Regions from separate parts of the Homo sapiens genome. Here region 1 is linked to region 2. Evidence: promoter capture Hi-C in human tissues and cell types (Jung and others, 2019). All regions are on one chromosome and are shown on one strand. Each heading gives the region's core, a stretch centred on a gene start or on the middle of the fragment in contact. The rest is flanking DNA. Distances are from core to core; before and after follow the strand shown.

Evidence for each region. The method cuts DNA at HindIII sites, captures the fragments that hold promoters and counts their contacts. A contact is called where the count stands out against the background at its distance.
Region 1: the fragment with the promoter of POLR2L here is called in contact with the fragment with the promoter of IFITM1 in region 2 in 1 of the 25 tissues and cell types used here (small bowel).

The regions. Positions count from the first base shown.
Region 1 is chr11:838,808-843,784 of GRCh38, reverse strand. POLR2L (RNA polymerase II, I and III subunit L) reads left to right here and starts at 1,256. Exons shown (of 2, transcript NM_021128.5): 1 at 1,256-1,371; 2 at 3,305-4,064. The coding sequence starts at 1,277. The coding sequence ends at 3,413. It overlaps TSPAN4 (tetraspanin 4), which reads right to left and starts at 933. Exons shown (of 9, transcript NM_003271.5): 1 at 870-933. CD151 (CD151 molecule (Raph blood group)) reads right to left here. Exons shown (of 9, transcript NM_004357.5): 9 at 4,954-4,977. RefSeq lists silencers at 261-429, 415-644, 665-754, 865-1,494, 3,723-3,772 and enhancers at 763-1,506, 1,507-2,252, 2,253-2,997, 4,825-4,977. The HindIII fragment of the contact is 28,886 bases long and covers 1-4,959 here.
Region 2 is chr11:312,790-315,289 of GRCh38, reverse strand. It overlaps IFITM1 (interferon induced transmembrane protein 1), which reads right to left and starts at 1,250. Exons shown (of 2, transcript NM_003641.5): 1 at 934-1,250; 2 at 18-368. The coding sequence starts at 1,119. The coding sequence ends at 177. RefSeq lists enhancers at 257-416, 947-1,286, 754-1,309, 1,310-1,865. The HindIII fragment of the contact is 8,559 bases long and covers 1-2,500 here.

The sequences.
Region 1 (4,977 bases), core at 7-2,506, 530 kb before region 2:
AGCCCAGAGCCCCCCATGGGTGCCGCTTTGCGGCCCACCCACCCCCACAGCCCACCTCGCACCTCCAAGGAGCCTTCTTTGCCTCTCACTGCACACCGACCCCCCATTTCCTCACCCCCACCCCAGGGGCACAGCAAGAAGGGTGCTGGTGCCAGCCCCCCCGCACTCCATCCGAGAGACACGGGCTCCTCGTCCCTCGTCGTCCGTAGGCCCTGAGCTCCAGGGCAAGCCAGAGCTGAGGCCTTCAGGGGGTCCTGCCAGTGCAGCCTCCGGGAGTCTGCCCAGGGATCCCCTGTGCCGGGGTCTTCCAGGTTCAGCTCAAAAAGCACCTCTTCCACGACTCCCTCCCCGACCTCCCTCCCGGGTCCCCTCTCCCCGTGCTCAGAGGCGCGTCTGAGCGTCGGGAGCTCGGGACGGCGAGCAGCCAGCAGAGCCGGGACCCGGGAGGGCGCACCCCGACCCCATTCCCGGGAAAGAGCGGAAAGAACGCGGACAGGAGCCCGGGGCGGGGAGCTGCCGGCGGGGGCTGTAATTGCGCAGCTGAGGCCAGGGCGGCGCCCCTAGGGGCTGGGCCGCGTCCAGAATGGGACCCCCGAACTCAGCGCCGAGAGCCCCGGACACCCCGCGGGCAGAGGCCGAGGCGGAGGAACCCACTACTCGGCGCGGCCAGGAGGGGCGGCAGGAAGACCCGCCCCGGCCCCCGCCCGCCCTCTCCCCGAGCCCCCGCGCCGGACCCCACTTGTTGCTGCGTGTCGGCTCTGGGCTCGAACTCGCGCGCCCCGCTCGCGTCCGGCTCCAGCCGCTCCCGGTCGGACACCTCCGGCCACGGGACCCTGGCCGCACGCCCCCACAACCCCCAGGCGCAGTACCTGCGCCGCCGCCTCCCGCTCGCGCCGCCCGCTCCCGCCGCGCAGCTGTCAGTCAAGCGGACACGAGAAACGCGAACCGCCGCCGCAGCTTTACGGCCCTGCTCAGACGCCGTAGCGCCGGGATGCACCAAGACGGTGGGCGGGGGTGTGCGGTCTGCTGCTGCCGCGGCCGCGCGGGCCCGGGAGCCCCGGGACGCACAGGCCCAGGAGCCCCGGGACGCACGGGAAGCCCCTATCGCGGCGGAAACTGCGGCCAGCGGTGGCGGGGCCGGTGGAGGGACGGCCGGAACAGCGGAGAACGAGCGGAGCCGATTCTCCCGCAACAGTGGACGCGCCCGGGGCGGGGCCTGGGGGGGTTCTTCGCGTGCGGCCGGGCCGGGCCGGGCAGTCTGGGACGCGCCGCCGCCATGATCATCCCTGTACGCTGCTTCACTTGTGGCAAGATCGTCGGCAACAAGTGGGAGGCTTACCTGGGGCTGCTGCAGGCCGAGTACACCGAGGGGTGAGGCGCGGGCCGGGGCTAGGGGCTGAGTCCGCCGTGGGGCGCGGGCCGGGGCTGGGGGCTGAGTCCGCCCTGGGGTGCGCGCCGGGGCGGGAGGCGCAGCGCTGCCTGAGGCCAGCGCCCCATGAGCAGCTTCAGGCCCGGCTTCTCCAGCCCCGCTCTGTGATCTGCTTTCGGGAGAACCTTATCCCCTGAAGTCTGGGGAAGAGAACGGAGTTGGGCTTCAAACCAGTGGTGTCCTGGGGATTCTAGGTGGCCTGGCGGGTCGCAGGCGTCTTGTCACCCGCAGTAAAGCCCTTGGCCTCCGCCCTATTCCCATCTCTGCCCCCAGGCCCACCCCATGTCCTGCAAACCTCGCTGCAGGACGGGCGGGCGCGGCGGCTGACATCTGTAATCCCAGCAGTTTGGGAGGCCGAGGCGAGAGGCTTGCTTGAGCCCAGGAGGTCGAGACCAGCCTGGACAACCTGGGGAGACCCTGATCTCCAGAAATTTATTTTATTTTATTTTTCTTTTTTGAGACGGAGTCTCGCTCCGTCGCCCAGGTTGGAGTGCAGTGGCGCGATCTCGGCTCACTGCAACCCCCGCCTCCTGGGCTCCAGCAATTCTCCTGTCTCAGCCTCCCGAGTAGCTGGGACTACAGGCGTGTGCCACCACGCCCGGCTAATTTTTGTATTTTCAGTAGAGATGGGATTTCGCCATGTTGGCCAGGCTGGTCTGGAACTCCTGACCTCAGGTGATCCACCCGCCTCGACCTCCCAAAGTGCTGAGGTTACAGGCGTGAGCCACCGCGCCTGGCTCTATCTTTTTAATTCGCCGGACATGGCGGTGCACACCTGTGGTCCCAGCTACTTGGGAGGCTGAGACGAGAAAATCGCTTGAGTCTGGGAGGCAGGTGGAGGTTGCAGTGAGCCAAGATCACGCCACTGCACTCCAGCCTGGAAGAGAGAGTGAAACTCCGTCTCACGCACACACACACACAGAAAAAGAAATGCAGGGTAGACTTGCTGACCACCCTCATCAGGCTTTGTAGGGGAGGCGTCTTTCTCCTGTGCTTGTCCCTTGGTGCTGCTGTCACCACGGTGCCTGAGTCTTGGTGCCCCCGCTGGAGTCTGACCCTCGCCCACTGAGTCTTCGTCACATGTGAAGCCCTGGGCTTGTGTGCGCCAGCCTGCCATCGGCACTTGGTGCAGCTTGCTGGACAAACGAGGAAAGCGAGTGGGCTGCTAGACTGAGTGGCTGGCGGCCTGTCCAGACCCTTTCCCCGGATAGGAACGGCAGGGGCCTCCCATGTGGCCTCCCCTTTCCCAAGCTTCTGTGTCTCTGCACATTGGAGCCATCGGTGTGGGAGTTTTCTGGAGGTCTTGAGGGTGACTGGAGCTAGGTCCCAGGGAAATGAAAGCTTCTAATTGGCTTGGGAAGTGGGAGAGGTGGCTCCGTGGAGAAGCAGTCTCTCTCTGATGGAAGGAAGCAGAGGTGAGGAAAGACCCCACAGCGGCAGAGCAGGGCTTGCTCTGGCTGGGGTGGGGGTGAACCAGCTAAGGGCAGGCCCCTGGAGAGCTACCCTGCCGTGGCCAGTGCTGGATGAGGTGGCTGCACATCAGCACCTTGGTGGTCTTGGTTTTCTAAGCTCCCCGCAATTACTTCGTTTTCATTTCATTTACATTTCTTACATACGTTATACACACACACGTACAGCCAGAGTAGGTGGGAGAGGAGGCTCCTCACGCTCCACCCAGGGTTCTGGGCATTTCCAGGTTACTCCAGCCAGGATCATACTGCTAGATCTCAGCTTCTGAGCCGGGTGAATCTGTTCGCCTTGCCGGTGGCGGGGGGGGTGAGGCCAGCAGGCAGTGAGAGGCAGGTTGGATGTGGGCTCCAGGCCTTTGCAGACCGTAGAGAACTCAGTTGGCCTCTGCTCCTCCCCTCGACACAGGGATGCGCTGGATGCCCTGGGCCTGAAGCGCTACTGCTGCCGCCGGATGCTGCTGGCCCACGTGGACCTGATCGAGAAGCTGCTCAATTATGCACCCCTGGAGAAGTGACCACGCTGGAACCCACCCACCCGCTGTGCTGACCATGGGCCCTGAGCGTCCTGCCCCGAATTCACGAGGCTGAGGCATCCGGGAGCTGGCGTAATGCCTGGCCGCAGTGTGTGTGTATCCGATACCCCACTCTGGAAGGAACCATCCAGTAAAGGTCTTTCAGAACCACTAAGGTCCCAGCCCTCACTAGGATGTCAGGAGCCAGGTCTAGGCCCAGCTTTCACACTGTGGCAGCCCAGTGAAGCAGACTGGGCCATGAACTCTCCTAGCCCTGGGGCCAGCCTGTTCCACAGGCACCCCTGCAGGAGGCGCTGCCAGGAGAGCCTTCCATCTCGGGGCTCTTTGAGGTTCCCTCCTTCTGGGTGTTCTTCAGGCTGAGCAGAGAGGCTCCTGTACCCTCTCTCTCGGAATCTGAAGAGCCAGATTTAGGCCGGGCAAAGGGGCTCACCCCTATAATCCCAGGACTTTGGGAGGCCAAGGCAGGAGGATCACTTGAGTCCAGAAATTCAAGACCCGCCTGGGCATCATAATGAGACCCCATCTCTACAACAAAATTTAATAAATTAGCTGGGCACAGTGTTCACACCTGTAGTCCCGGCCACTCGGGGCTGAGGCAGGAGGATCACTGGAACCTGGGAGGTTGCCACTGCAGTGAACTGTGTTTGCACCACTGCACTCCAGCCTGGGCAACAGAGTAAGACTCTGTCTCAACACAACTATGAAAAAGAAGAGAGAAACAGATTTTCTGGGGCCCAGTCTCTGCTGTGGTCAGGGCTGCCAGTACCTGCTGGCCTCTGCCCACTGCTGCCTGTCCCTGAGCGTCCCACCCAAGCCCAGCAGGGAGGGCAGGCCTTAAGACGCTCCTAGCTGGGTTGGGAGGTGGCCCTAAGGAGGCCCTGCTGTCCAGGCAGTGCTGCCAGCAAGCACCCCAGGTCAGATGTCCCTGCTGCCCAGATATCTGGCGTGGTGTCCTCTGGTAGGGGAGAACGGGTCTGCCTGAGGGTCTACAGTTCTGAGCCTTAAGGACAGGAACCTGGGCAGTGGGGGGCACAATCAGTGACCGAGCCCTGGCTCCCATCTCCAGGGTACCTCTGCCAGACACCAGGCTCTGGTACCTCCTACCCTCTGGCCCCCAGCAGGGCCTATAGGCTCCTCCATGTAAACCCCCTCACCCTACTGCCCCCACCCCACCTGCCTGACACCTCTTACCTGGGCACGGCCCCCAGTCTGCACCCTTCCCACGTCTGCTCCCCACCATGGCCAGAAGGGTTTTGGAAACCATTTTTCCTCTCCCCCAGGGGCTCTGAACACACCATCTCACCATTTAGGAACATGTTCAGTTCTTTCTGCTGAGGCCTGTGCTCAGCTGTCCCTGGCATCAGACCTCCCTTCCCTGGAGCCCCATGGGGGGTGTGTCCTCCTGGCTCTGCCCTTCTTTGTCCTGACACTGGGCGGGGCGGGGGTGGGTCTGTCTGCCCTGCTGGATGCGAGGGCCCTGAGAACAGACCACCATCTGTTACCAGCACAGCGAGCTCGTCCATCTGCTCTACAAGTGTTTATTGAG
Region 2 (2,500 bases), core at 1-2,500:
ATGAAGTCACAGCATCATCACAAGCACGTGCACTTTATTGAATGACACTGTAGACAGGTGTGTGGGTATAAACTGCTGTATCTAGGGGCAGGACCAAGGGGGCAGGGGCAACAGCCCCAGCGTGCAGGGCCAGCATTGCACAGTGGAGTGCAAAGGTTGCAGGCTATGGGCGGCTACTAGTAACCCCGTTTTTCCTGTATTATCTGTAACATAATATGGTAGACTGTCACAGAGCCGAATACCAGTAACAGGATGAATCCAATGGTCATGAGGATGCCCAGAATCAGGGCCCAGATGTTCAGGCACTTGGCGGTGGAGGCATAGGCCTGGGCCCCGGTCACGTCGCCAACCATCTTCCTGTCCCTAGACTGGGGGAGAGGAGATGGTGAGGGGACCAGGATCCCCCAGCTGAGAGCCGCGTGCTATGGCTCCGTCTCCTCCCCGCCCTGAGATCAGGGACCACCTCCTCCCCTTCCTCACCCGGGCTCAGACTCTCCAGGAGCCTCGGGGCTCATCCTCCTTCTGCCTTGGCCCCAGCACAGGCTGTTCTCCCCACCATGGGGTGAAGTCACCTGTGAGTTCCCTTCTCACTTTCTGGGAGAGCCTGGGTGCCAGTCTGGAAGGTGAGGGTGTAATTTCTTACTGGGCTATAGGGAGAATTGCTCTGGGCTAATGGATAGCCAGGGACAGACTCTGAGCCAGCCAGCCAGCCTCCTGGAGCCTCCTCCTAGACCTGCACTGGGCAGATTCCCCAAAGCCACACACACACACAGATCACACAGACAAAGCTACTGACGTGAGCACACACGGGGCAGAGGTGCACACAAACTCACAGTCACAGGGACACACAAGTCCCCACCCCAGGCAGCATGTGGGCAGGTGGAGCCCCAGGCTCACCGGCACCCCCTGGATTTCCGCCAGGGCCATACGCACCTTCACGGAGTAGGCGAATGCTATGAAGCCCAGACAGCACCAGTTCAAGAAGAGGGTGTTGAACAGGGACCAGACGACATGGTCGGGCACGGAGGTCTCGCTGTGGATGTTGATCACGGTGGACCTTGGAAGGATGGTGCTGGGGGGTGGCCCCAGCACAGCCACCTCATGTTCCTCCTTGTGCATCTTCTGGCTTTGGGGAAGGAAGTGTTGAGTGAAGGTTTGAGAAGTGTGGTTTTCTGCGTGGAGCGAAGGGCCGCTGTGGTGTCCGGATGCTGGGACGGTGCTCAGTGAGACCTCCTTTCCCCTGTCGTTTCAGTTTCTCAGAAGTGTGTATTTCTCTTAAGTTTCTATTTCCTGCTGTTTGTAAATTGGTGAATTAGCCAGGGACCAATGAGGTGTGGTTTAACTTCTTGAGGATCAAATTACTTTATGGCAGGGTGGGAGGAAAGGCTGAAGGCTAAGGAGAGAGGCTTCCTCATCAGAAACTCAAGTCAGGACTAGTGACTTCCTAAGTGTTGGGTTTAGGGGGCCCTGGGGATTTTACCCAGGCTTGGGTTCTGTCCACCCCAGGCCAGCAAGTACAGGACCTCACTGTCCCGGTTCAGGGCCCCTGCCAGGCCCCCACACTCCAGGCGCCAGGACAATCCCCCAAAAGCCCTCACCTCACTTGTCGCAGGCCTCTCTCCTGAAATCCTTGCTCTTTCCTCAGGCTGCAGTCCTGCTCTGTGCGGGTTTGGGGACTAAACCTCCCAGTGTCTCCTGGTGCAGGTCAGAGGCCTGGTGGCCAAAGTTTCCTGCCCCAAAGCAGCCCTCCAGGCCCAGGAACGGGGACTCTGGGGAGAACTGACTCCCCAGAGGGTAGTGTGTTGAGACACGGGGAGGATTCCAGGGCCTGTAGGGGCAGCTTCAGAGCACAGGGCACACATGTGCCACCCCCTACCTTCCGGGTCCCAGCAATTCCCATGGCTTTGGTTGGGGTGAGTGCTGGATGACCTAGGCGTTGGGTCCTAGCCATGCAGGAGAGACCTGGAGGGTTGGCAAAGCCAAGTCTGGGGCTGTCAGGCCTGGGTGCCCCTTCACAGGGACGGGGAATTGTAGACTGAGTAGCAGAAGGGAGCCCTCAGGCACAAGGATCATGAATTACAAATTGCAAATTACATAAAGGAAAAATCAGAGCCCAAAGGTGGGCCTGCAATTATTAATGTAATGTTCTTAAGTTCTCTTTCTGCTTTCGTTTCTGCCTGCTTTAAGTCTGCTGTTACTTTTCTACAGAGATAAAATCCACTGTTTGCATCCAACCATTTCTTTTTATTGTTTGTGTAAACCAATGAATTTGTATTACTATCTCATGGCTGGAGTTCTGAAGTAAAACCATACTTTTGCTTGAGTGTGTATGTGTGTATATGTGCACATACACATATTTCGTTATGTGTTTTTGGCCACAAGTTACCAAATTTAGCTTAAACTTAAAGAGTACTCATAAATTAAATAATAAGCCTAAATGCTTTTCACGTTCATGTGACTTAAGTAGAATCTTTAATAAGCTAGCTTTAAAATTACTGGT